7 separate regions of the Homo sapiens genome follow, and all the other regions are linked to region 2. Evidence: promoter capture Hi-C in 16 types of primary human blood cells and fetal thymus (Javierre and others, 2016). All regions are on one chromosome and are shown on one strand. The core of a region is centred on a gene start or on the middle of the fragment in contact, and the rest is flanking DNA. Distances in the headings are between cores, read along the strand shown.

Evidence for each region. The method cuts DNA at HindIII sites, captures the fragments that hold promoters and counts their contacts. A CHiCAGO score of 5 or more calls a contact.
Region 1: a contact is called between a fragment that was not itself captured here and the fragment with the promoter of PLAC8L1 in region 2, in 6 of 17 cell types (naive CD8 T cells, naive B cells, total B cells and 3 more). The highest score is 12.1, in naive CD8 T cells.
Region 3: a contact is called between a fragment that was not itself captured here and the fragment with the promoter of PLAC8L1 in region 2, in 14 of 17 cell types (total B cells, naive B cells, naive CD8 T cells and 11 more). The highest score is 25.7, in total B cells.
Region 4: a fragment that was not itself captured here is called in contact with the fragment with the promoter of PLAC8L1 in region 2 in 5 of 17 cell types (total B cells, naive CD8 T cells, naive B cells and 2 more); the score reaches 12.4 in total B cells.
Region 5: a contact is called between a fragment that was not itself captured here and the fragment with the promoter of PLAC8L1 in region 2, in 1 of 17 cell types (neutrophils). The highest score is 5.9, in neutrophils.
Region 6: a contact is called between a fragment that was not itself captured here and the fragment with the promoter of PLAC8L1 in region 2, in 5 of 17 cell types (neutrophils, M0 macrophages, total B cells and 2 more). The highest score is 9.1, in neutrophils.
Region 7: a contact is called between a fragment that was not itself captured here and the fragment with the promoter of PLAC8L1 in region 2, in 5 of 17 cell types (M0 macrophages, M2 macrophages, total B cells and 2 more). The highest score is 7.8, in M0 macrophages.

The regions. Positions count from the first base shown.
Region 1 is chr5:144,224,919-144,228,697 of GRCh38, reverse strand. All of the region lies in intron 3 of KCTD16 (potassium channel tetramerization domain containing 16), which reads right to left. Among named protein-coding and RNA genes, the nearest start is that of KCTD16, 56 kb to the right of the region's middle. The HindIII fragment of the contact is 1,457 bases long and covers 1,323-2,779 here.
Region 2 is chr5:146,103,131-146,106,985 of GRCh38, reverse strand. PLAC8L1 (PLAC8 like 1) reads left to right here and starts at 1,409. Exons shown (of 4, transcript NM_001029869.3): 1 at 1,409-2,793. The coding sequence starts at 2,675. RefSeq lists a silencer at 3,114-3,314. The HindIII fragment of the contact is 7,482 bases long and covers 1-3,855 here.
Region 3 is chr5:144,208,203-144,211,961 of GRCh38, reverse strand. The region is part of intron 3 of KCTD16 (potassium channel tetramerization domain containing 16); the gene reads right to left. Among named protein-coding and RNA genes, the nearest start is that of KCTD16, 39 kb to the right of the region's middle. The HindIII fragment of the contact is 2,086 bases long and covers 716-2,801 here.
Region 4 is chr5:144,245,000-144,248,725 of GRCh38, reverse strand. All of the region lies in intron 3 of KCTD16 (potassium channel tetramerization domain containing 16), which reads right to left. Among named protein-coding and RNA genes, the nearest start is that of KCTD16, 76 kb to the right of the region's middle. The HindIII fragment of the contact is 1,116 bases long and covers 1,460-2,575 here.
Region 5 is chr5:144,119,751-144,123,529 of GRCh38, reverse strand. No RefSeq gene overlaps it. Among named protein-coding and RNA genes, the nearest start is that of YIPF5, 49 kb to the left of the region's middle. The HindIII fragment of the contact is 2,631 bases long and covers 1,153-3,779 here.
Region 6 is chr5:144,148,433-144,151,980 of GRCh38, reverse strand. No RefSeq gene overlaps it. Among named protein-coding and RNA genes, the nearest start is that of YIPF5, 20 kb to the left of the region's middle. The HindIII fragment of the contact is 2,557 bases long and covers 277-2,833 here.
Region 7 is chr5:144,191,909-144,195,915 of GRCh38, reverse strand. All of the region lies in intron 2 of KCTD16 (potassium channel tetramerization domain containing 16), which reads right to left. Among named protein-coding and RNA genes, the nearest start is that of KCTD16, 23 kb to the right of the region's middle. The HindIII fragment of the contact is 5,543 bases long and covers 1-4,007 here.

The sequences.
Region 1 (3,779 bases), core at 802-3,301, 1.9 Mb after region 2:
TTATCTCCTGAATTGTTGACTTTTTTCTCTAACCACTGAATTCTTCTTATAAAAATACAAGCATGCTGTTTTTTTCTAATGTCTAAAAAAATTCTCTTTTTCTCTCACTTTCTGTTCTACCACCTAATTTCTATATTTCACTTTTTAGCAAAACTTCTTGAAAGTTCTGTCTGTACTCACTTTTCCTAGTTCCTCTGCTACGATTCCTCTGAAATACATTCCAATGAGGCTTTTGCCCTCAGCAGTTCATCGAAACTGCTGCTGTCAAAGTTATCAATGACCTCCACATTGGTATATCCAATAGCCATTACTCTCAATTTGCAAAGAATTTACTCTTTCAGCAGTATGTGACTCAGTTAATTATTCCCTCCCACTTGAAGCATTTTTATTTTCACCTGGCTTCCAGGACACCCCACTTTCCTGGTTCTCTTCCTACTTCATTGGCCACTCCTTCTGAGTCTCCTTTGTAGGTTCCTCTTCAACTCCCAGGTCTTAACACTTGAGTGCTTAGACCTCCATTCTCGGACCTACTCTCTTTTCTTACTGCATTACTTCCTTAGTATTGTCATTCAGTCTCAGATTTAAATACATTCTACATGGTGATGACTCCCAGCTTTATATCTTAAGCCTGAACTCTGCCCTACAATCACAGACCCATATGTCTAACTCCTATTATTCACATGAATGTCTAACAAGCATCTCCAAGCTAACATGTCCAGATTTTGAATTCCTAATATTACCTCTAAAAAAGGCAATCTTTCCTCAGGTTTCTTTATCTTGATTAGCAGTAACTCCATTCTTCCAAATTGCTTAAGCTAAAATTCTTGAAGTCATCCTCAACACTGTTCTTTTGCTCATACAACACACCCATGCCATCAGCATATTCTGATGCCTCTACCTTCAAAATATATTCAGAAACTGACCATTCTCACCATTTCCACTCCTATCGACCTTCTCTGAGCCATCCACTCCTCTCAACTGGATTATTCCGATAGTTGTCTAATTGATTGCCACACTTCTTCCCTTGGTTTCATCAGTCTGTTCTCAAAATAGCAGCCAAGGTTGAATACAACAGCAGCTTGTTAAAATATATGTCAAATTTCTGACATCATTTGGCAGGCAGCTTTTAAAAATAGGCCAAATCTTGTCACTTACCTGCTGAAAACCCAACAATGGCTGCCCATGTCAGCAGAGTCAGAGTCAAAGTCCTTACAAAGACCTATAAATCCCTACAGAATCTGGCTCCCTTTTATCTCTGTAATCTCATTTTCTCCCAGCCTCTTCCTCCCTTACCAGTTCCAGCTACACTACCCTTCTAAGCTTCTTCTCCAATAGACCCAGCACTCTCCAACCTCAGGACCTTGATATGTGCTTTTCCCTCTGCCTGTCAGATTCCCCATAGTTTGAAAGTTCATCTTCTACAAGCCTTTATTTAAATATCACTGCCTCAGTGAAGACATGCCTGTCTTCCACCTAAAATTCCAACACACATCCCTAAACCCAGCCTGCTTCATTCTCCATAGTGTTTATCTACATATCCTTGTGACATAATTTATATTTTGTTTATTTATGCTGTTTATTATCCATCTCTCCAGACACATGTATACATACACATCCTAGGATATAAGCTCCTTGAAGGCAGACAGCTATGTGTGTTTTATTCAGTGCTGACTCCTCAATGCCTAGAACACTGTTTGGCATATAGTAGCTGTTTAATAAAAATAGTTAAATAAATTAATAATGCATAAAACCCTTAGCATAAAGCCTGGAAAAAATACACCACCCTCAAATGTTGGCTATTATGTATTCATAAAGAAATAGATTTGGCCAGGCGCAGTGTCTCACACCTGTAATCCCAGCATTTTGGGAGGCCAAGGCGGGCAGATCACCTGAGGTCAGGAGTTTGAGACCAGCCTGACCAACATGGCGAAATCCCATCTCAACTAAAAATACAAAAATTAGCTTGGTGTGGTGGCACATGCCTGTAATCCCAGCTACTTGGGTGGCTGAGGTGGGAAGATTGCTTGAAGCTGGGAGGCAGAGGTCGCAGTGAGCCAAGACGATGCCACTGCACTTCAGCCTGGGTAATAGACTGAGACCCTGTCAAAAAAAAAAAAGACATATTTTTTTTTCTCAAAGTCAAACATAGAATCACTTCAGGTTCAATTTTACGGTGAACAACTGAAGAAACAATAAGATCAATTTTATTTAATGAACTCATACTTACTATATTCCACAGATTGTTCTAAATCTTTTAAAAATATTACCTCATGGATAGGAAAACTCTGTAGTCTATGGATAACCCAGTGTAACTTAGCAATTAAAAAGCATGTATAGTCTTTGGTATCAGACAGACTTGACTGGAGTCTGAATCCTGATTTTATTATTTACTAGCTATGATCTTTGGTAAGAATCTTCCTAGGTCTCAGTCTTCTTATCTGTAAAATAGGGGAAATAATCCCTACCTCCTAATCATTCTAATGAGAAATCTTAGTGCTCTAAAGAGAAAACATCACAACATCTGCAAAGCACTTACCACAGTATCTGCTGGGTGACTTGCACTCAATCAGAGGCATCTATAGTTCATTGCAGAGAAAGGTAAACAGTTAAGTGGAGAAAAACAAAAACCATAAGAGATAAGGAAAAGCAAAAGTGTATACTTCCCTGTCTCTAGGGTTTTAGGATTTTCATCAAGATTCAGAAGAAAAAGGAGTTGAGAAAGGCAATTGGTTTTTAAATAAAGAATAAGTTTTTCTTTCTAGTTTTTTGGTTGCAAGCTTGCTGCTATAATAGCTAGGCTTCTAAAGTAATGGAAAGCTGTTATTAACATGAAATACTTACAACAAAATTATGTTCCCAAATAACTCTCCCCAAATGCAAAACTAGGCAAGCTACTAAAAAAGAAGCTCATTGTCTGAATATTTTATGATTTAAACAGAGTTTCAGGTTAGTCATAGGTTTCATGCTTAAATGTACCCTTTCTCTAGGCAAATGCCTGCTAGGGCACTAAGATTAATCTTGTTTAAGACTACTTCACTCATATTAGTCTTGCTACTGATTCTAGAGCCAGAAACTCTAACATGACTTCTTAGTTTTAAAGACACACACACACACACACACACACACACACACACACACACACACAATTTATTTTTGCTTAGGTATGTGGTGGAGCAGAGGAAGAAAATGATAAATTCTTCCTATTCTGTTTCGAATTCTTTTGACATCTTTTTTGTACTATGAAATTCTGTGCCTTTTCATATCCGTGGTACCTAGGAAATCAAATTCTTAAAAATAATGCTGTGTAGGAGTCACTGGGAGAAGAGATTGTATCCCAGAAGTTCTGTGTGGGTAACTGAGGACAGATTGTCAGATTTCGGCCCAATCTGGTTCAATTTCTTAAAAGCTGTATCATGAGAAAATTGTGTTCATAAAACTTGAAATTTGAAGAGGAAAAGAAGAAAAAAAATCAGCCATGTTAAGCACCTTCTCCCATCCACACACCCCACTAGAGGCTTTATGTGGGCTTCTCATTTTATCTTGTGAGGCGGCTCCCTTGAATAGCTCTGTTTTGGCAGTTCGAAAAAGATAGCATTGCCATCTGGTATTTCTGTGGTATGGCATGATGGTGAAGAATGCCAGAATTCGGGTCAGGGCAATTGGGGTTTGAATTCTGCTTCATTGGTCTATCCTTACCCCCATTCTTAATATGAACCTATGAACTTTTCTTAAACTTAAAGCCAGATGGATACTACTAGGTTCTACTATACGGAAATTCT
Region 2 (3,855 bases), core at 160-2,659:
TGGTCAAAAGCATTTTTTGCCCTGAGGCAGGGGCATGTAGCTGGTGTGCTGAAGGAATAGCAAGGAAGCCACATGAAGAAACAGGTCAAAGTCACTGGCTCAAGATCCTATGTATTAGCAGCAGAGTTGAATTAGAGCCCTGGCCTCCATCTTCATTGCACTTAGACAACAAAGAATTCGTGCATGGAAAACAGGAATGTATTTGACCAAGGCCAGTGTTACCAGGGCCATTAGGAGGTCAGAGAAAGGAGAAGTTTATATGGACCCCAGTCAGGTAGAAAATACTTCACCCCAAAATTTACAGCATCAATAAGATTTGTAATGGCCCTCTGCTGTGCATAGAGCTTGTATTAGTGTGTTTTCTTTTCTTTTTCTTTTTTTTTTTTTTGAGACAGAATCTTGCTCTGTCATCTAGACTGGAGTGCAGTCGAATGATCTTGGCTCACTGCAACCTCTGCCTTCCAGGTTCAAGCGATCCTCTTGCCTCAGCCTCCTGAGTAGCTGGGATTACAGTGCCTGCCACCACGCCTGGCTAATTTTTGTATTTTTAAGTAGAGATGGGGTTTCACCACGTTGGCCAGGCTGGTCTGAAACTCCTGACCTCAGATGATCTGCCCGTCTCAGCCTCCCAAAGTGCTGGGATTACAGGTGTGAGCCACTGCATCTGGCCTAGTGTGTTTTTATACTGCTATAAAAAACTACCTGAGACTGGGTAATTTATTTAAAAAAGAGTTTTAATTGACTCAGTTCCACAGGCTATACAGGAGGCATGGCTGGGGAGGCCTCAGGAACCTACAATCATGGAGGAAGGGTGAAGGGTAATGTTAAAGATACATTTTGATCACTTCTAGGACCTTCTGATGTAAAGGCATATTTGTTAAAATCACACCCAGAGCTTTTATTGTAAGGGTACTTTTTTTTTCTTACACTTTCAGAACTTTCCAATGTAAATATGCATTTTGAGTACTTCTGGAATTTTTCATAGTTAAGGTACATTTTCTCTTTTGCAATTAGAAATATGTGGAATAGTTATATTTTTGCACCTTGAGAATATTTGGTTCCTAATCTTTTTTATCTAATGGTTTTAATGCTTCTGAATTTCCTTCCTGATATGTTGTTATGCTGGGGCTATGCAAAATGGTGATATTCTAATGCTATTATTTCTTTTTCATAAATATTTGGCATTCTTTTATAAAGCACATGCCTTTTCTATTCTTTTCATTTTATTTTTAAATGAAAAAGCTGTGTAGCATGTGGATTAGTCACTTCATACAATAGACGTTTGATTAGAAAAGTTGGGCGCAAATGAAATGTAAAAATATGGAGTCATAGCTTATATGTACCATGGTGGTTTACTCTTCAAAGGAATCTTACTGTAAATCTTTTTTTTTTTTTTTTTTTTTTTTTGCAAAGCTAGTAATCACCTCTTAATTTCTGTTATTCTTATAAACCTGAATTTTCATGTAGGGCACATTTATTCAACAAATTATTGAGTGCTTTTTATGTGCCAGACACTGTGGTCAGCACTTGGAATAGAGTAGTAAGCAGAAAAAACATACCTGTCCTTAATGTAGGGTACATCCTTACTGTTAAGAAGACAATGACAGTTGCCCAGAACCCCATGATTGAAGGCAGTTATGAAGCTATGTCTGAGGAATCTTGATTTGGAAGGTATTATAGGCTTTTCCTAACAACCTGGTTCAATAAATGCTTTGAAGTTCAGAACCCTAAGCAACCATTCTCTATGGGTCTGATGAAAAGAATATATGATATAATTGGCAGTATCCTCCTGATGTCTTTCTAATGTAATGTCAAATTATGATTGCAGAGCCCTTTCCTCAACGTGAAATTTTGCCTAATTTTTTGTCTTAGGATATTTCCTAATATTTCTAGGGTCCACACCTCCATAAGACATGTGCCAGAGGCATGATTCAGAGGCTCCTGAGACCTTGAGGATTCAGAGCTGTTGTGAGGACATCACCAGGCAAGCCTTGCTTCAGTTACTAGATTCCGTCTGGACTGGGTAGGAAAGAAATGCCACTTTCCTGGCATTATCAATGAAGTTAATGGAAGAGCAGAGAATTTCTAGAAGTTCTGAAAAGGCTTTGAGGCTTGTGACAATCTACCATAGCTCAAACTTGAGGAGACCACCTTTCATAAGATGGATTCAAATACAATACCTGCGCTGAAAGACTTTTTTTTGCTCCTGCTTTTGGGTTGGCTATGGGACTTGCATCATCTGGCTGAATTGGACCAGCAGTTCAGGGGATGAAGAGAGGTCTCTGCTGCTTCTCAGTCACATGGCATGGCAGAAATTTTCAGCCTTCTGAATCTTCCAAGGAACGGTCAAGTGGCACTTAGCTAGATAAATGTTTACTAGAGGCATCTCTTAAAGAGTTTTCCACCAAAGATAAGTCTTTTTCTTCTATTTACTCTATACTCCAGCAATATCTCCCTACAGATTAGTAAGATGAATGTGTCCACAGTTAGGTGTATACCTGTTTTTAAAGAAAAAAGATGTCTGTTAGTTACACTGCTATGACCTCAGGTTCCAGAATATTAAGGGAACATTCTTTCAAGAGATGTTTCACTTTGGACTAATCCGAAGTTTAGAAACCAGCTTATTGCCAAAGGGAAAAAGGATAGCCCAAAGGACAAGAAAACACTTCTCACTATGAATTGGTTTGGAAGTAACTTCTTCAGGTGTCCTGAGGATCTTTCCTTACTCAACATATACTCACCTCTGTTGTCACACATGTCATCTGAAGATGAACATTTTATTTCCAACTTGAGGTAGGGAATAGGGTGAGTTTTTCCCCTAGCTTTTGCTCTTTAGTTGGACTATCGAATCAACCTCTACTTATAAGGAACCAGGGAAAAGAAAACTGGGCTTGGGAAGAAAGTGGTTGCTATCTTTTCTCCATGCAAACTTGAAAAGAGGGCAACTGATTTGTTCCTTCTGGCCTTTCTTGGCTGGTGACAAGAAAAGGGCTGGCTTGGGTGAAATGGTATCTCTTTATTCTTAAAATGTTGAACCCTGACCAAGTGGAACTTTATTTTTAGAGACTGCCAATCATTTCCACCCTTTTGAAATGAAAACTCAAGGGTTTTGGCTTCAGCTGAGTTTGAAATAATCAAGGAGGCCTAGGTACAAGGCAGAATGATTTCACAATACTCCAAGTGTGATTACGGAAGAGTGACATGTAACACCCCAGGCTGAAGAACCAGGCATGTGGGAGACATGGTAGGGCTTGTGCTAGAAGAGGAAGAGGAATGGAGTGAGGTCAAAAAGAGGGAAAAGTATGTATCTCATCCATCAAACTTTAACAGGAGTTAGCCTCCTGCCTCCTGAGTTAAAGCCTCCCTCACCTTCTGAGGGTTAGGATCACCAACCATCTTGGTTTGCCTGGAACTGTACTGGTTTTAGCACTAAAACTTCCCTATCCTGGGAAAACCCTTGGTCCTGGGCCAACTGGAATGGTTGGTTACCCTGACTGAATCTTTTTTTTTTAAGAGATGGGGTCTGAGGCCAGGCGCAGTGGCTCATACCTGTAATCTTAGCACTTTGGGAGGCTGAGGTGGGCAGATCACCTGAAGTCAGGAATTCGAGACCAGCCTAGCCAACATGGTGAAACCCTGTCTTTACTAAAAATACAGAATTAGCTGGGCGTGGTGGTGCATGCCTGTAATCCCAGCTATTAGGGGGGCTGAGGCAGGAGAATTGGTTGAACCCTGGAGGCAGAGATTGCAGTGAACCAAGATCACACTACTGCACTCCAGCCTGGGCGACAAAAGCAAAACTCTGTCTCAAAAAAAGAAAGAAGAGATGGGAGTCTTGCTCATGGATTTAAGCAA
Region 3 (3,759 bases), core at 509-3,008, 1.9 Mb after region 2:
TAATGACAGAGCAGAATTTTTCCTGATGAGCTTTGATTATGGCATGGGAGAAAGAACTGGAGAGCAGACATGACTCAAACAGAAGGAAAGAGGAGCAGCTAAGGTGAGACAACAGAAGGAAGTCACAGAGAGAGATGCTGGTAGTGTAAGGACCAAACATCACATACCTTATGATTTTGGCCACTCTGCTATCCCTGATGTTTCACTTTGAATGTGCCAATACCATATCTCTATAGGTAATAAAAATTGAAATTATTACAGGTTGAATATCCCTTACTCAAAATGCCTGAACTGGACATGTTTCAGATTTTGGATTTTTTCAGATTTTATGATATTTGCATATATGTAATGACATATCTTAGGGCTAAGACTCAAGTTTGAACATGCAATTCATTTATGTTTTATATGCACATTATACACATAGCCTAATGTAATTGTATACAATAGTTTTAATAATTTGGGACATGAAACAAAGTTTGTGTTGAGTACTTATATGTGGAATTTTCCACTTGTGGCATCATGCTGGTGCTCAAGAAGTCCTGGATTTTGAATCATTTTGGACATGGAATTTTTGAAGTAGGGATGCTCAACCTGTACTGGTATCTTTCAAGTAGCCAGGAGAAAAAAAAGGCTAGAATAATCTTAGGGTAGATGCATTTCCACCTGTTTTCTTATGAAGGCACATGCTCTTATTGAAGCTTGTTAAAGTCAAGCTTAGCTAAATTATTCACAGTGGCCAAAGCATATATTTCTCCCCAATACGAGGTCACACAGCTGAATTATAAATGGAAGATAATTTCTTGATCTACTTTTTTCCAACAGCCTATCTTAATCAATAATCCTGAAGATATATACTGCATCTAAAAGGTAATTTAGAGACTTCTGTGGAAGCAACTCTAAATTTTAGGAAAATAAGTAAAGAGAAGAAAGGTTAAAATGCACTTACAAGCTGCAATTTGTTGAAAAGATGATGAATCAGTGTGTCTGTTTCCATAATTCATAGAATTCAGAGTGTATGTTTTCAGAATAAGTGTCCTATGAATTAACCTCCCTAAGTGTGGTCACGTTATCACAGCTTTATTAGAGGCAAATGCCTTTAAATCTTAGTGCTTTCAGGCATTTGGCTGAAGTAACTCACTCATGAGTAGGCTTATGGAAATGTGCATAATTCTCTCCAACCAAGAACAATCTTCCCACTCTCTCAGGCATCAGAAGATGGCTCTGGAAATAAAGGTTCATTTATTTCCATGCACCTGTCATTTGGTTCCTAAGTGATGTGAATTGTTATTGAGTATCTAGTTCAAAATCAGGACTTGTCTTTTGCAGATTACATAGTTCTCATTTTATTTAGAGGTGAATCAAGAAGGCATTTTCTGATATTTATGACCTCACCTTCCACATAATGCTTGAAAAGTAATTATTCAGTCAGTTGGTTGGGAAAGTAGTAAAGAAACCTTCTTATTGTTTTAAATTAAAGCAAAGGACATGTCTAAAATACTTTGTAAGGCAATCCCTAGGGTAGACGTTTCTTTTCTATGTTCCTCTATCACTCATATTAACTCTTTTAGTTGCATATAAGTGAATCATAATCCATAGCATTTCACCTGTATTTTGGTGTGTGAGTGATGTAGACAAACACATTTCTTACCTGCCTCTTAAGCACATACAAATACCTGTTGACTTTTTCATTGTTCATAGTTCTACACTAACAAAACACACACTGAAAACCACCTGATATTGACCATCAACTCTAGGTCCACATGAAAATTTAAATGAGGTAAGAATCTAACTTATTCATGGTTGATAGGTAGATTTCGGTCTCCCCAATTTTTCTTGGAAGACTCAGAAGAAAAAATAGGCAAACAGGGAAACAAGAAGTCTCTCCCCATGATTATGAACCATCATGCTATGCACTAATTTCTTGCTGTTTATTTTTTACTGAGATATTGATCCATGCAAAGTGACTCTGCCTTATTCCTGTGTTATTAAAAAAGACTGATTGCTTAAATTGTTAATTCCTTAGATCTAAGGAGCTTGTATATATATATATATACATATATATACACACACATATATATACATACATACACACATATATATGTGTATATATATACACATATAAATATATATATATTTATATATATACACACATATAAATATATATATATATATATTTCCCCCTAAGCCCAGGAGGAAGTTGAGTTCCTTTGTGAAAAGCATCTTTGCATGCAGCCAACTCCCTTCTTTAGAGCATCTCCCATGGTTTCGTCCCATTAACCCGAGCACAACAGCTTGATGAATTAATGCTTATATAGGCACAGTTGGCAGCTTCTAATTAAATAATTATGGCTAAGCAGCTGCACGGAAGCTGTTATGCACCCTAGAAAGCCAGCTGTCAGTTTTATTGGTCCTAAGACAGAGGAAGAGTTAACACTTAGCTCTAGATGGTGGGTACAAAGGGGAAGTATATCATTTGCAAGATATATGCTGCTGGTATGAAGTTCCTGTGCATTTGTGCTAGCCTGTCCATGGAGAGATGGAGAACAAACTGTTCCTCAGCAATCTCTCAGCAATTCAACAAAGAAAGAAGAAACGACATAGTCAGGAGAATGGAGCCTGTCCAGATAAATCTAAAGGGAAATCGTGTTGGACAGATGAGCCTTTGATGAACACAGAAATGCCACTGGTAGACAAATAAATTTCAGTGTGTGGGTCTCATTTATGTAAGCAAGTGACTATAAATCCAATGTGGTCTTTTTGGAGGGTATAACTGGTATGTTTCCATTTATTTGGTTGAAGCTTCTTACGATGCTATGTTTTCAAATATTCAAAATCGGAGAACATGGTAAATATTACAAAGCTGCATTGGAACTATCTTTAAGATGTACTTCTCCAAAAAGTTTGGAGAAGATATTTCTGCTTCAGAATTATAGATAATGTCATATTCCTTTATAGAAAGCTAAAAAGCCGGAATCTTATCTCTACACTAGTGGGAAATTTACCAAAAGGAAGAAGACAATACCTGTCCACTAAGCTCTAGCATAAAGAAAGATATAGATTGTAGATAAAGGCCACAGATAGGATTAATGAACCAAATGATGTTTGTTATCGCACATCAATATACTCCTGAACTGATTACTGATTTCGTTTTTTTCCACAGGTTGTTCTGGCTATGCAATACATGTGTCTTAACCAAATGTGTGATAGCTTAGTAGAGAATGACTTGGCTTCCCACTAGCCTCTCTACCAAGGTTCCCGGCACCATTGCCAAATGATTAAACATAACTAAGGAAAAAAACCAGTCCAAGAAATTCAGTCCTACTTTTATGTTTAAAGAAATTTAGATATTTTAATCCTGAATTCTGGATTTGTTTTAGAATAAGAATAGAGGAAATCAAATGTTAACACTGGAAACATATTTCTTGTGGAATTTACTTCACCCAACTCCTGGGCCTGTTGAAAATCGGCAGTTAAAATCAAGTACCAAAGAGTGCAGGCTGATTTACTCTTTTCCTTTCAGGGATCAATGGCTCACAGTTTATAGTTTAGAATAATGCCATATCATAAAATGAGGAATCTGCAGGGTATCTTCATTTAAGCAAATGAACTGACCTCTAAGAACCCCTTACTTAAAAGGCTTCAGTATCATTGTTTCATTTCTTCCCTCTCTGGCTTCCTTTTATGTCAGTAATTCTACCACCTCAGCTGTCTGAAGGTGTTTAAATGTGATTGACAATTCTGAAGGATCTAGTTCCTTTT
Region 4 (3,726 bases), core at 768-3,267, 1.9 Mb after region 2:
CAATTCATCAGCAAAGCCAGAGGCTGTTTCTCACCTTCTTCATTCCTATTATCATGGCTTCAAGTAGTACTCATTCCCTGCCTAAATGGTTGGAATGGCCTCCTAATGGGTCTCCCTGTTCCCAACCACATCTCTCGACAGTCTATTTTCAAAAGAGCAGCCAGAGGGAGCCTGTTAAAATGAAAGTCAGATAATATTCTTTCTTGTCCAAATCTTCTATTGTTCTCCCATCTTAGAGACAAAATCAAATTCCTCACAATGTCCTACGAGACTGGACAGTATTTAGTTCACTTGCTTCACTGTCCACAGTTCCTGCCAGTTTGTTTCATCCACACCGGCCTTCTTGGTGTTCCTTGAACACTCATGCCCATGAGCCAGCTCAGATCTTTGATTTTCCTGGTTCTTCTGCACTAAACACATTCTCCAGATATCCATAAAGCTTTCTTTCTTTGCCTCTTTCAAGATTTTACTGAAATTGCCTCTTCTCAATGACATCATCCTTGTAACTCTCTCTTAAATGGCACTACTGCCCCCTACTCTCCCTTTCTCAAGTCTCTGCCTCCAAGGGGCTTACTTCCTTCTCCCGTACTGTATATTTTGATTATTTATCTGACACATTGTTTAATTCCCCAAAATGGAAAGAAAGCTCCATAAGGGCAAGGTTATCTGTCTCAGTCATTGCCACATTCCCAGTGCTACATAAAAGAAGCTCAATAAATATTTATGACATAAATGAAGAATCTGAAATCACATGCCTCCTCCTAACGTCAGAGTCACTGAGCATGGAAAATAGCCCAGGACCTGCTCATCAGGTGTTGCTTGCAGGGAAGAACAGTGGACAGACAAGATGGTGGGAAAATTAGAGAAGTAGGAGGAAGTCCTGAGAGAGAAGACACCGTTGGACACCCATTGAAAACAATGACTTAGAGGGAAAATTAAGAAATAGTCTACAACATCTTCTAGGCTTTAAGTGTGTTCATAATCAGCAGTATTGGTTGGTTTACTTTTCTGGTAATGTATTACATAAAAATTACCCTGTAAAGTAGGTAATAATAATAATCATGATCATGGTATTAATTACTATAATTTATTGAAAACTGTTCCAGTTGCTACCAACACTTACCTACCCCACAACCAGCTTCAAACAACTATTTTATCATATTCACAGATTTTATGGGCCAGAAATTCAGACAGCACAGTGGGAATAGTTTATCTGTGCTCCCATGTTTGGAGCCACAGCTGGAAAGACTTGATTGCTGGGAACTAAAATCATCTATAGGTCTCTCCCCTCACACAACTGGCAGCTAATGCAGGCTGGTGGCTGGGATCTCAACAGAAGCTGTTGACAGAGCCTCCCAGTAGTCTCTCTGTGTGCCTGAGTTGCCTCAGGGTGATCAGATTTCTTACATGACAGCTCAGGGCCCCCAGAGGAAGTGTTTCAGTAAACAAAGCAGAAGCTTCAATGTCTTTCATTACCCAGTCTTGGAAGTCATAGTCATCATTTCCATCATACTCTGTGGTCAAAGCAGTCACAAGTCACAGAGAAGAAATAATCCCTATCTTTGAATATTAGGGTAGCTGGTCATGTAAAAGAGTGTATGGGATGGGAGCTATTGCAACCACCATCATTGAAAAACATAATCCCACAGAAACTAGAATAAGTGCTTTACCTAATAAACTAAGTTAATTCTCACAATACCCCTGAGAAATGCCATTATCTTGAATTTACAGTAAAAGGAACATGAACTGCAAAAGGCTAAATGATTTGCTCAAGATCACACTGTTGACAGGTGTTGCTGAGAGCCAAACCAATGTATAACTGACTCCAAAGTTCATGCTCTCCCTGATACATCTTCTCCATGGCTAGAGGAGGCAAGAAAGAACATGATGTGGGAGTTGGAGGAATGACACAGAAATCAGAGGGCCTGAAAAGGGGAGACGATGATGACAAGGACGATGACAATGATGAAGAAGAAGGAGGAGGAGGAGAAGGAGATCAATAAAGGCTTGATTTTAATGATTATGGTACCTTGTCAATGTTGGCACCTTGTCAATGATGGTACCTTGTCAATGTTAAATTATCATTTGGTGATTTGTTGTGTTTTACTTGAGGTGATATGGAGATAGGGTACACAATACCCTATATCCAGTTTCTCCTAAGTTAACACACAACAAGTATTTAAAACTTTAATTTAAAAATTACATGCCATAAAAGTTCTATATTAATTATTTTATTCTATTAGATTTTAAACAGAATGAAACAAGATATTCTATTGTTTGGATATTCCCAATATTTTGTCCCCTAAATAAATGTTTATCAGATGTAACTCAAAGCCAGATTTCCCTTATTTGTATCCTAATGGCTTCTGCAAAATAGCCACCATTTATTGAGCAAATGGACATAGCCTGATAATTTTTTAATGTTACCTGGAATTATATTCAGTGCTTTTTTGATAATGCACTCCCAAACAAAAACTTACAAGCCCCACTCTGGATTGAAGAGTTCACATTAAATTACTCTTCCCTATAAACATAATGATAGAAAAGTGGAGACTCAGCTGACTAATATGAAGCTTGATGAAGACCAACTCTCTGCCCAAACATCAGCTGATCTCTGTGATGCAGCATCCTTACTCATAACATCATTGCCCTGTACACCTCAAGAGTGCTCACTGACTGTCCTTAGGATAAAGACCACAATTCTTACCATAGCCCAAAAAGCCCTGTAGTGTCTGAATCTCAATGCCATCTTGTGTCCCCATGTTAGTCCATTCTTACATTGCTATAAAGAGATAGCTGAGACTGGGTAATTTATAAAGAAAAAAGGTTTAATTGGCCCATGGTTCTGCAGGCTTCATAGGAAGCATGGCAGCATTTGCTTCTGGGGAGGCCTCAGGGAATTTACAGTCATGGCAGAAGGTGAAGGGGGAGCCAGCACTTCACGTGGCCAAAGCAGGATGAAGAGAGAGGAGGGGGAAGTACTACACACTTTTAAACAACCAGATGTCATGAGAACTCACTATTGCAACAACCGCTCCAAGGGGGATGATGTTAAACCATGAGAAACAGCCTCCATGATCCAATCACCTCCCACCAGACCTGACCTCCAAGATTGGGGATTACAGTTGAACATGAGATTTGGATGGGGACACAGATCCAAACCACATCAGCCCCACTTCCTCTTTGTCCTCTGCTTTCCTCCCATTCTGGACCCTTTTGAGTTCTTCAGACATGTCATTCTTCTTCCTCCCTCAAGACTTTTGCAGATTTTAGTCCTTTTGCCTGGAATACTCTTATTTCCTCCATGTGTCTTGTTAACTCCTATACTTAAAGTCGCACCGCAACCATAACTTCCTTGCGGATGTTTTCCTTGACTTCTCTGATGAGGTTAAACCCTCTATTCCCTCATTATACACTCTTATATTAAAATAGTCTTCTCTTTCAAAGTATCTACCACAGTTGTATCTTTCCATTTATTAGTTTGATTCTTTGATTAATTTTTATCTCCCTTCTAGACTGTATGCTTCTTTAAGACAAAGATTGTGTGTGTATTTTCTCCCTAATCCTCATCACCCAGCACAATAGCAGGTCCATTGAAGATATTTAGTAATTATTTGTCAAATAAATAAATAAATGTACAATGGAATAAACAAAACATACAGTTTAAATTTCTGAGGGTCATGATCAGCTTGTAATAGAATATTGATCATTGTCTTCTCATATCTG
Region 5 (3,779 bases), core at 1,219-3,718, 2.0 Mb after region 2:
AGTGATCTGTCTGCCTCAGTCTCCCAAAGTCCAGGGATTACAGGCATGAGCCACAACACCCAGCCTCAAAATATTTTTAAAAAAAGACTTGTGACATAATAATATATACGCTTCTTTACTCATGCATGAAATAACAAGATCTAGAGGCAAGCCAAGTAAACATTATGATATCAAAGTGGTGATAAATATGATTTTTAGAGATAGCTATAATAAATAACATAATATAACAACATTTGTGATTTGTATTGATAACATAGTCATGAATGTGGTTAATATTGTTTTATTACCTACATGCATAATTGAAGGAATGATTCATTTGAGTTAGAGGTTAATGAAAATAAAAATATAATTTTTCCTACCCAGTTCAAAGATCTTCAGATTCTACCCATCAACCCTTGCAATCTACAGGCTCTGTACTGTATAACTATTTCTTAGCCAACCAAAAGATTTAGTCTGAACGTTTTCAATACCTGCCAAACTCTGCTTGAGAGTTTGTGGAGATAGGTAGTACCTAAAATAATTGCCTTTTAACAAAGGGCCCAAAAGATCTAGTGATAGAGACAGAAGGCAGCCAAGGGTGCCCCGGTGAAACCCCACCTTCAAGCCTAAAATAGCAAGGCTGAAAAGCTGGACTGTGGTCCTAGATGAAGCCTGCCATTTCCCAGCGGATTCTTTTTGACTAATCCCCATCTGCACACTGGGAGGATGGGGTAGAGCCTCGGGAAGTGCACAGTGTTTCAGTGAGGAGGAGCCTGGCCTCTCCTGTCCCTGTATGGTGACCTGGGATTCAATCTGTGAGGTGGGAAACCTGCTAGAAGGACTCTCTCTCACTTTGCTGAGAGTTATTTTTCCTTTTTCCTTTTCACCCACTAAATTCCATTTTTCTCACCCTTCCATGTGTCCATGAGCCTAATCCTTCCTGGCTGTGTGACAAGAGCCCGGTTTTAGCTGAACTAAGGAGAAAGTTCTGCAACATTAGAGGTAATCAGGTCTGGACAGATCTCTCTGCAATGATTCTCGTCCTAGGCCATGAATTTGGGAGATCATAATCCTGAGCAAGTGTTGGAATACAGGTAGAAAAGTATGCAAATTGGCCAGGGCCTGATTTTTTTTTATAAAAAGTGATTCCCTGGCTTTGTAAGCTGATAAGCTTCTTAAAGATAAGGTGCAGTGTTGCCTGGTATCCTTAGGACAGTAGCTAGAAAATGGTAGAAGGCTGACAAATGCTATTAGGATGATTTAATGAATGAATGTAATCATGCAAAAATAATTGAAGTTCAGTCTGGGGCAAAGGGAGGGGTACCCAAGTGTAAATTCCTTATCAGTGAACTTGGCAAAAAGAAACAGCATGATTAATGTCAGCTATTCTTATTTTTGCGGTATAAAGCACTCTTTTTGTATTCTATTTTGTCTGGTACCCTTAAAAAATGGATGGAGCTTTCCAAGCCGCCTCTTTTTGTCTAGGGTTTGGATAGAGATTAGATAAGAATAAAAGGCACAATGTATATAAAGCACATAGCACAGGGGCTGGTAATAAGGAAATGATCAATAGCTACTATTATTAATTTTATCTAAGATAATAAATTTAATATTTGTTAGTATTAATATGATTATTAATATTAATCAAGGCAGTGAGTCAAACTTAGTAATGCATTAGAATCACAGGAAGAACATTCAAAAATACTTATTCTCCAAGAGCTCACTGAATCAGAATTTCTGGGGAAGGAGCCCAGAATCTGCTTTATGAAAAAATTAGCAAAGTATTTGAAAAGGAAGCCAAGAGTGAGAAATTAGAGCCCAGCAGGAAACTGAGTCATTATTACCCACCCATTAAAATATAATTTTAATGCAAACAGTGAGCACTTGTTAAGATTTGATTTTATGTATTCATGAGAGAAGCAGATGGATATCAAAGCTAGTTCCAAAGATGATATGAAAAATTGTGATTCGATAAGGAGTAGCAAAGAAAGTAAGTAATGCTGAGACAGTAATGCTCAATTTGTTACAAAACCAGGTAAGATCCTTTAGGATAATAAAAGCGTAACTAGATCAATGAATCCAGGACTTGGTTTTTTCAAAAAATTAATAAAATAGATAGACCACTATGCTAGCTAGACTAGTAAAGAAGAAAAGAAAGAAGATCCAAATAAAATCAATTAGAAATTACAAAGTGGATATTACCACTGACCCCACAGAAATGCAAATAACCATCAGATCCATAGCTTCAATGCACACAAACTAGAAAATTCAGAAAAAACAGATAAATTCCTCAAAACGTACATCCCCCCAAGACTGAACCAGGAAGAAATTGAATCCCTGAACAGACCAAAAACAAGCTCCCAAATTGAATGAGCAATAAATAGCCTACCAACAAAGGCCCAGCACCAGACCAATTCACAGCTGAATTCTACCAGATGCACAAAGAAGAGCTGGTACCATTCCTGCTGAAACTATTTGAAAAATATTGACGAGATGGGACTCCTTCCCAGCTCATTCTATGAGGCCAGCATCAGCCTGATACCAAAACCTGGCAGAAACACAACAGAAAAAGTAAACTTCAGGCCAATATCCTTGAAGAACGTCAATGCAAAAATTCTCAACAAAATACTTGCAAACTGAATCCAACAGCACATCAAAAAGTTTATCCACCATGATCAAGTAGGCTTTACCCATGGGATGTAAGGTTGGTTCAACATATGCAAGTCAATAAATGTGATTCATCATATAAGCAGAGCTAAGGACAAAAACCACATGATTATCTCAGTAGAAGAAAAGGCTTTTGATAAAATTCAGTATGCCTTCATGTTAAAAACCCTCAAGAACTAGGTATTGAAGGAACCAGCTGCAAAATACTAAGAGCCATCTATGACAAACCCACAGCCAACATCATACTGAATTGAAAAAAGCTGGAAGCATTCTCCTTGAAAACTAGCACAAGACAAGGATGCCTTCTCTCACCACTCCTCTTCAACATACTATTGGAAATCCTGGCCAGAGTAATCAGGCAAGAGAGAAAAACAACGGCATCTAAATATGAAGAGAGGAAGTCAAACTATCGCTATTTGCAGATGACATGATTCTATATCTAGAAAACCACATAGCATTGGTCTAAAAGCTCCTTAATCTGATGACTCCAGCGAAGTCTCAGGATCCATAATCCAAGTACAAAAATCATTAGCATTCCTGTACAACAACAGTCAAGCCAAGAGCCAAATCTGGAACACAATCCCATTCACAATTGCCACAAAAAGAATAAAATACGTAGGAATACAACTAACTAGGGAGGTGAAAGATCTCTACATTGATAACTACAAAACACTGCTCAAAGAAATCAGAGATGACACAAACAAATAGATAAAGAAATTCATGCTCATGGATAGGAAGAATCAATATCATTAAAATGGCCACACTGTCCAAAGCAATTTAAATATTCAGTGCTATTCCTATTAAACTACCATTGAGATTCTTCACAGAACTAGAAAAAACTACTTTAAAATTTATATGAAACCAAAAAAAAGCCCAAATAGCCAAGATAATCCTAAGCAAAAGAGCAAAGCTGGAGGCATCACACTACCTGATTTCAAACTATACTACAAGGCTACAATAACCCAAACAGCATGGTACTGGTACAAAAACAGACACATAGACCAATGAAACAGAATACAGAACCCAGAGATAAGGCTATAAACCTACAACTATCTGATCTTTGACAAAGCTAACTTGAATTCTAGATAGTAAAGTCATTCTCTCCTGGAGGGGGGTGAAGCTGCAAGCCATAA
Region 6 (3,548 bases), core at 306-2,805, 2.0 Mb after region 2:
GTAGCATTTGTTGTGCCTTTCAAAGTTTTGTCTATTCTCAGTTTTTGGTCAAAAAAAGTAAAAGAATATTTCATCTTCAAGTGATGGGAAAAATAATATCAAATATATATTTGCAAGTATAGGGGGAGAAATAAGTCCCCTGCTTGAGATTTTCCTGGTTTAGGAACTTGGAAAATGTTTTCCACCCTTGTTCTATGAGTTTTCCCAATGAAGTTCCAAGCCATTAAGTGCCCACCATGAACAAAGCCCTGCTTTTGGCTTCCTCCTTAGCAAGCTTAATATTCTCTACTTCGATGTTTTGTTTTTTGTTTTTTTTCCGCCCCATAACTTATTTTCTTTTTCTAATTGCCTTTGGATTAATCTCTAAATCCCTTCCGAATTCTTCATGTCTTTCTTTAATTGTATAGTCCAGATCAGGAAAATGCATGTTTCATGTATCTAATCATGAGTGTGTAAAGGTGACCTCACATCTTTTTCTTTTTTTTTTTTTTTTTTTTTGACAGGCTCTTGCTCTGTTGCCTCGGCTGGAGTGCAGTGGTGCATTCATGGCTTACTGCAGCCTTGACCTTTCGGGCTGAAGTCCTCCCTCCTCAGCCTGCCGAGTAGCTAGGACCACAGGCACACGCTACCACCACACTTGGAATTTTTTTTACATATTTTTGTAGAGACAGAGTATCACTATGTTGCTGAGGCTAGTCTTGAACTCCTGGGCTCAAGCAGTCCTCCCACCTTAGCCTCCCAATATGCTGGAATTACAGGAATGAGCCACTGTGCCCAACCATCTATTTCTTTTCATGTAACTAAGTGACACATTTCTTGCATACTTTTGAACTGACAGTGGTAAATACATATCTTAGTGCTCACCCTGTTATGGGTAAAAAACTTGGTAAGATTTTGAATAAGTAATTTTTGTGCCTTAATTTTCTCTATATAAAATGAAGAAATTGTATTAGATTCTTTAAAGCATTTCAATTCTGAAATTCTACAATTTCTGAGATGGTGATAAGATTTTAGCCATATTAAAAAGAGAATAAATACTGACATGGTAAAGTTTTCCCTGAATATATTTTAATTTTATCAGGAAGTATATATAGTATACCATCTTTGTAAAACAAAAAGAACTTTACATATTTGTGTGTGTGTGTGCATGTGTGTACACACACACTTGCCACCTGGGACAAATATTTTACTAAATGAGAGAATTAATGAATTTATAGATGCTGTTTTCAAACTTCTTGATTGGAAGAAGTTTTAACTATACCTTAGAAAGAAAATGTAATTTTGCTACAATGACGCTTAATGTAATTTTGACTTTTAAATATTTTGTCCTTGGCTGGGTGTAATGATTCACACCTGTTATCCCAGCAATTTGAGAGGCCATGTGCTTCAGCCCAGGAGTTCGAGACCAGCCTGTAATATAGTAAGACCCTGTCTCTACAAAAATAAAAATATTAGTCAGGCATGGTGGTGTACACCTATAGACCCAGCTACTTGGGAAGCTGAGGTGGGAGGATCACTTGAGCATAAGAGGTTGAGACTGCAGTGAGCCATAATCACACTGTACTCCAGCCTGGGCGACAGAGGGAGACCCTGGCTCAATCAATAAACAAATAAAATGTTGTCCTTCCAGTCTAATTGCATTGAAAAATATAGCTATTACCCAGGCATATCACCCATAGTTCAGAGTTTGATATTCTACCATTAGATTAATTTTTTTTCTTTTTGGTTCATCAGTGCCTCTCTCAATCTTGTAGGTACCTGATTCACTCTAAAGTACCAAGGACGTTCATCTCTATTAGCACTAGCCTCCTGGGGTGTAACGTGACTCTTCACAAAAAGTCCAGTAACCATTTCCTTAGTTCAATAACTAATACATCTTTGAGAAATTGAAAGCTGCACTACTCTTGAAGAAAGCAATTGTGTTCATTTCAGCAACATGGAAAGTCCAGGAAAAACTAGTATGACTCTCCAAAGGCAATGCTTATAAAGGAGAGGGAGACTTTATGTTGTTTATTAATAGATTTGATTTTTATATTTATCATAAGATGTAATATATGCAATAAGATAAAAAGTATAATAGCATGTCCCTTGCATTTAGAGTGAAATGTGAAAACAATATTAAATCTATCTAAAACACCCTGCATATTCTTTAATTACATCCCATATCTTCCCCTCAGAGATTACTAGTTTATCATTTTGAGCATTTCTTTATATTTTTACTAGGTATGTATCTATTCTTAAAAATTGTAGTATTACTTGGCATGTTTTTGACTTTTATATAAATGATACAATGCTGTGCTTTTCTTCTGTAACTTGCTTTTTTTACTCCTAAGTTTCTGCAGTTCAGTTATGTGAGTACTTGGTGACGCTCTGTTTACTGGTCTGTATTATACCATGAGTATATCATCACGCATTGATCCATTTTTCTGCTAATAGACATTATGTTTGTCTCCAGTCTTGCTTTTACAAACAATGGTCTGTAAGCAGTGTATCTACCGTGTGTGCAAGGGTTTCTTTGGGTATCTACATAGGGTTGAAGTGTTACATTTGTATGGGTTTGTGTCTTTTTGCCTTATCCCATAGTCATAAAAGCAGTCTCAATAGTTCTTCTAAAGATTTTAAAGTTTTGCTTTTCACATTTAAAACTTTTTAGCCCCTTGTTATATGGAGAAGAAATCAATTTCTGGTGTTTTCCCCCATAATGCATAGCCAATTGTTCCAGCACCATTTATTTTATGGTCTCTCCAGGATAGGTACTGTTAAGCTAACCATAAAGCATTTTTCTAGGTTAGTCCTGAAAAAATGAAACCTTTTCTCTCCGTTAAGGAAAGCTTTTCTCTCCTTTATCTCTTTAAAAAATTGTCTGTATTTTTCTTCCTCCTCTAGCCTCAGTCTCTCTGCTTTTACCTTAATGGTATCTGCTTTATTAATGGAAAAGATACATGACTTAGAAGAAGTAGTATCTCAGGACAGTGTGACTCCCTATATCCTAAACCAGGGGTCAGCAAACTTTTTCTGTATCAGGCTAGATAATAAATATTTTAGGCTTTACTGGCCAAGAGGCAAAATCAAGGATATTATGTATAATATCTATACATGTAAAATAGGTGTTATAGATGTAAAATGCATATTATATATAAGAAAGAACAAATTTCCACAAAATTTTTATTGAAAAAATTAAAAATATAGTAATTTAGTATAATTTTTTATAATGCAGGTCTACTAATGTGTAGAATGGAGTTATTTCTGGTTCTCTAATTTGTCTCCTCCCTACCTGATGAGGTAAATATCGTTAATATTTATTTTCATTCATAAGGAAAATGAAGTTCACACAGTTACCCTGTGGGTAAACGTTGGAACCATCATTTGAGCCTTACTCCAGAGCTTGTGCTCTGGATCTTGATACAATTTTCAGAAGAGAATTAATATTGTCTTATTTTAATGATAAATAAATTGAAGCTCTAAGAGGTTAATTCAATTGGACAAGGTAATACAGATTGCTGTAGGACCACATCTGTCTGATTTCAAAGCCTCATGCTCTTTCCCTT
Region 7 (4,007 bases), core at 1,442-3,941, 1.9 Mb after region 2:
GAAGAGGAAAAAGTTCTATGAGAGCAACAGAGCAACCAAAAGCAAAGTCATTTTTTGAAACTCTAAGAAACATCATGCCTAGAACAAAGTGCCCATTAATAAATTATTGATGAACTAAAGAAAGTGCCACTTTGCATTACTATACATTTACTCGGTATGAAATCAGAGAGGCACTCATTTAGAATTCATTTAGAGCTGTTCCAGACAGGGCTGATTCATTAGAGTGCTGATGATCTCAGAAATATTTTATATGTGTATATAAATGTAAGTCCGTTGCAGCACTCTACCGTACAGCTAATCTGTATTTGGTTCTCAGCCAGTGAAGACTAAGAGCCATTTGAGTGGCCCTTCCCTCTCCATTTGTTGACTCCACCAGCTCCCTCTTTCTGTGGTTCCTTGTGTGCCAGTGAACACTGAAGCTCAAGATGGCTGACAAAAGGTGACCAAGCAACGGTGCTGGAGATTCTGCAAAAATCATGAAAGGTGCTGGATGGTAGCAAGCAGGCTGCACTGCAACAACCTCAGATGCCCCCAAGGAGGTGGTCTAAGAAACCCAGATCAGCAGACATTTGTTGCCTGGTAGAAATCCTTTGAGATTTTGAAGGACAACATAAGCCTTGCAGCAACCCAGAAAGATAAGAAAGGTAAATAGAAGAAATCTTGGGCCAAAGGCACATATAGCATCAATGTAGTTAATGTGATAATTTCCAGGAAGAGATTCCCCCATGCTAACAGGGTATGCCTATAGTTTAACAATTGGGGGATGGTGGTAGAGGAGGATTTCAAGCACTATTTCTATTTCAGATACACAGGGAGTCCTGTAATTAAGGATATCCTGAGGGTCTGGGGAAGCTGACGGTGTAAGCAACAGTTCTTTAAGGCAAGTGTGTGACACAAAGGAAATCTAATAAAAGAACAAGTTACTTTTGATCAGCACAAAATGACAACATTGAAGGATTTGTGGTCACCTTTCATTACTGCAAATAAAATTTTCCTTAAGTTCACCTAGTATTCACAAATTCATAGTATTCACAAAAAATACCAAAACACAATTTAAGTACTAAAAATGATTATTTCTTGCACAGAGAAGCAATAGAGCATCATGGTTAAAAGGGTGGGCTTTGGGATCAGAGAGTCCTGGGGTCGAATCCCACCTCCATTGTTTACCAGCTGAAAAAGTTACATACATCTGAGCCACAGTTTTCTCATCTGTACAACAGGGGTAATAATTGTACTTCCCATACAGAGTTTTGTGAGAACTAAATAAATAATGCATGTTAAATGCTTAGTGCACTAACTGGCCCATAGTAAATGCTCAACAAATGTATCATTTGCTATTACAAACACATTGCTTCGTGTCTTTTTAAAAATGAATTCTCTCCTTCCCCAAACTGTTCTAATTATTAGCTCCACAAGAGCTCAGGGTAGAGCCACATCACTAACATTGACCAATCCTTACTCTGGACCCCTTACAGATGTGAAGGGAAGGAAACAGAGCAATCATATAAATCTCCCTTGAGGATGCAGAGCCTCCTACTGAGAGGTGGTTTGGATAAGTCAAAGAGCACCATACGGCAGTGTTGTAATGTTTCCCGCATGGATAACACATTTTCTACTTGACAAGTTATCAGTGTCACCATCTCTGGCCCCATAAGCTCCAGAGCTTGTTCCTCATTTGTTAGATGTCACTTGTCCCAGCATGGTGCTTTATATACAAGGATATCTGAGTGAAAGTCTGCACATTTTTAATGTTCTCTTCTTTCTTCCTAAATATTCCCCCTTGTTGACTAATTCAGTCTCGGTGAACCATCTTCACTGTATGCAAATGACTGTAACACCTAAATGCTTGGCCTTGCTTTCTTCTCAACTTCCATACACCTGCTGGGCATTTTTACAGAGATCTACCAGCACCTTACACTCGAGTCCTAAGCTAAATATCTGTTTTCCACTCTCATCTTTTTCATTTCTCCAAGTTCTCCTTCTGTGTTAAGAGCATCACAGGTTTCTCAGTCCAAGTGAAAATCCATCATCTGATCCCTCCCTTTCCATTGGCACCCAACACTCAATAATTAAGTCTACCCACTTTCTCTACTATACTTCTTTCAGATATCTCTTCTCTTCGCTTCCATTTGTCGTACCTTTGTTCTTTGCCTTTTACCCAAATTTGACTAAGAAATAATTATGGAGCCATGAGCCAGGCACAACACTAAGCTATAAGCTCTATGTGTTGGGGATCCAGAAATGAATAAAGTAGACCAGCTCTTTGCCATCATGGAACTTCCATTATAGGCCAGACACACAGATCATAAACAAATAAACAAATAAATGAGCAAGATCATTTCATATAGTGAAATGAGCTATGAATAAAATAGAATAGGTAATATTTAAAAAATCTTGTTTGGGGCAAGGAGAAGAGGATTGATACTGCAGGCTGAGACTCTGGGGAGGGGAGCCAGCTATGTGAAATGCTGGGAACAGTGTGCTCTAGGCAGGTGGAATGGAAACAGCAAAGGCTCAGCTGTCTGAGGTGAAACTAAGCTCGGCTTGTTCAAGGAACCAAGAAAGCCAGCAAGTTGGATCCCAATGAGCAAGGGTGAGAGTGCAGGTCTGAGAAGTAGGCAGGGACCAAACCACAGATTTCATTCTATGTGTTATGGGAAGTCATTGGGAATTTAAAGTTAGAAGTGACATGTTCTGGTTTGCTTACTTTTTAAAAGGTGACTTTGGCTGATATGGGGATAACAGATTGTCAGGGAAACAAAATTAGTTGTAGGGAGATCAGTGGGGAGAATTTACAGGGATTTAGTGATATATGATGATGTCTCAGACCAGAGTGAAGTAGAATACATGAGGAAAAGCTAGCAAGGATTTTGGGGGTACAGGTGGTGGTATTTCTATATGGACCTGTTAATGTTCTTCCTCCTTTCAAGTTTTTACATCTCAGTTCATTTGACACAAAGCTAACAGTGTCCTCTTTCTAAAGATGCCATTATTTGCCCAGATATCTTAATTGGCTCACCACTGCTCATAGAATAAACTCCAAAGTCCTTGGTGTATATTCAAAGCTCTCTGCTATCTGGCCTCACCTTCTTTAGAGTTCCATACAAATGGGCTGATAAGGAAAGGGAAAAAAATGGTTACAGAGACATTCAAAAGTTCTGAGATAAATCATTTCAAAAATAGTGATATTCATAGAAAGTGGTGCTGGTTTTTGATATGTGAAGGACCAGCATTCACAGCTCTTCAACTGCTCTTAAAATCTGAAAGGTTCTGTCATAAATGAAAAAGCCACAGTGCCTCAACCAGTGGCTTGCTTTAACTTCCAAGGGAAGAAATAGGAAAGCTCTAGGAACTAGAAGAAATCATGTAACCCCTTAGAACACAAATAAATAGATGAATTAATTGATTTTGTTACAATCCTTCGCTTTATTCGTTCCCTGGTCTAAAATCTCCCATTATAATGCAATTAAGTGAAACCTCATGACAAAATGTAATGATTAAGCAAACTATAAAAAGGCAGAACTTGATAGAATGAAATCGTGTATCACATTGAACATATGATTTCCTTTCTCTTCTGCCTTAAGTAAGCATTTCTTAGAAATCAAAAATTCATGTCAAGATCATCAAAGCCGACTTGAGACGTCATCAGGATTAACAATCTAGAGTAACAGAAGGGGGCAGTGTTATCACAGTCTCTTGCATCAACCTGAAACCTTGAAGAAGAGAAACTGAAAGTCACCCTGAGTAACACTGTTCACTTACCCAGCATCCTCAACTGAGTCCCAATTTCAATTACTAATTTCTTTCCACTTGTGAAGTCTTAAGCTCCCAAAGTCAGCAATGAGATGCCCCCTTTGGTCCACCAACTTGACATACCCTGCCAAGCCCTATAAGAAACTGATCCCTTCTCACTGTAGCCTCAAGAAATGCAAGCCTGTCTCTACATTTACCTTCATTATTAATTATTCTGCCTTTTACAGCATGAATGGTGAAAGAAATTCACTTGT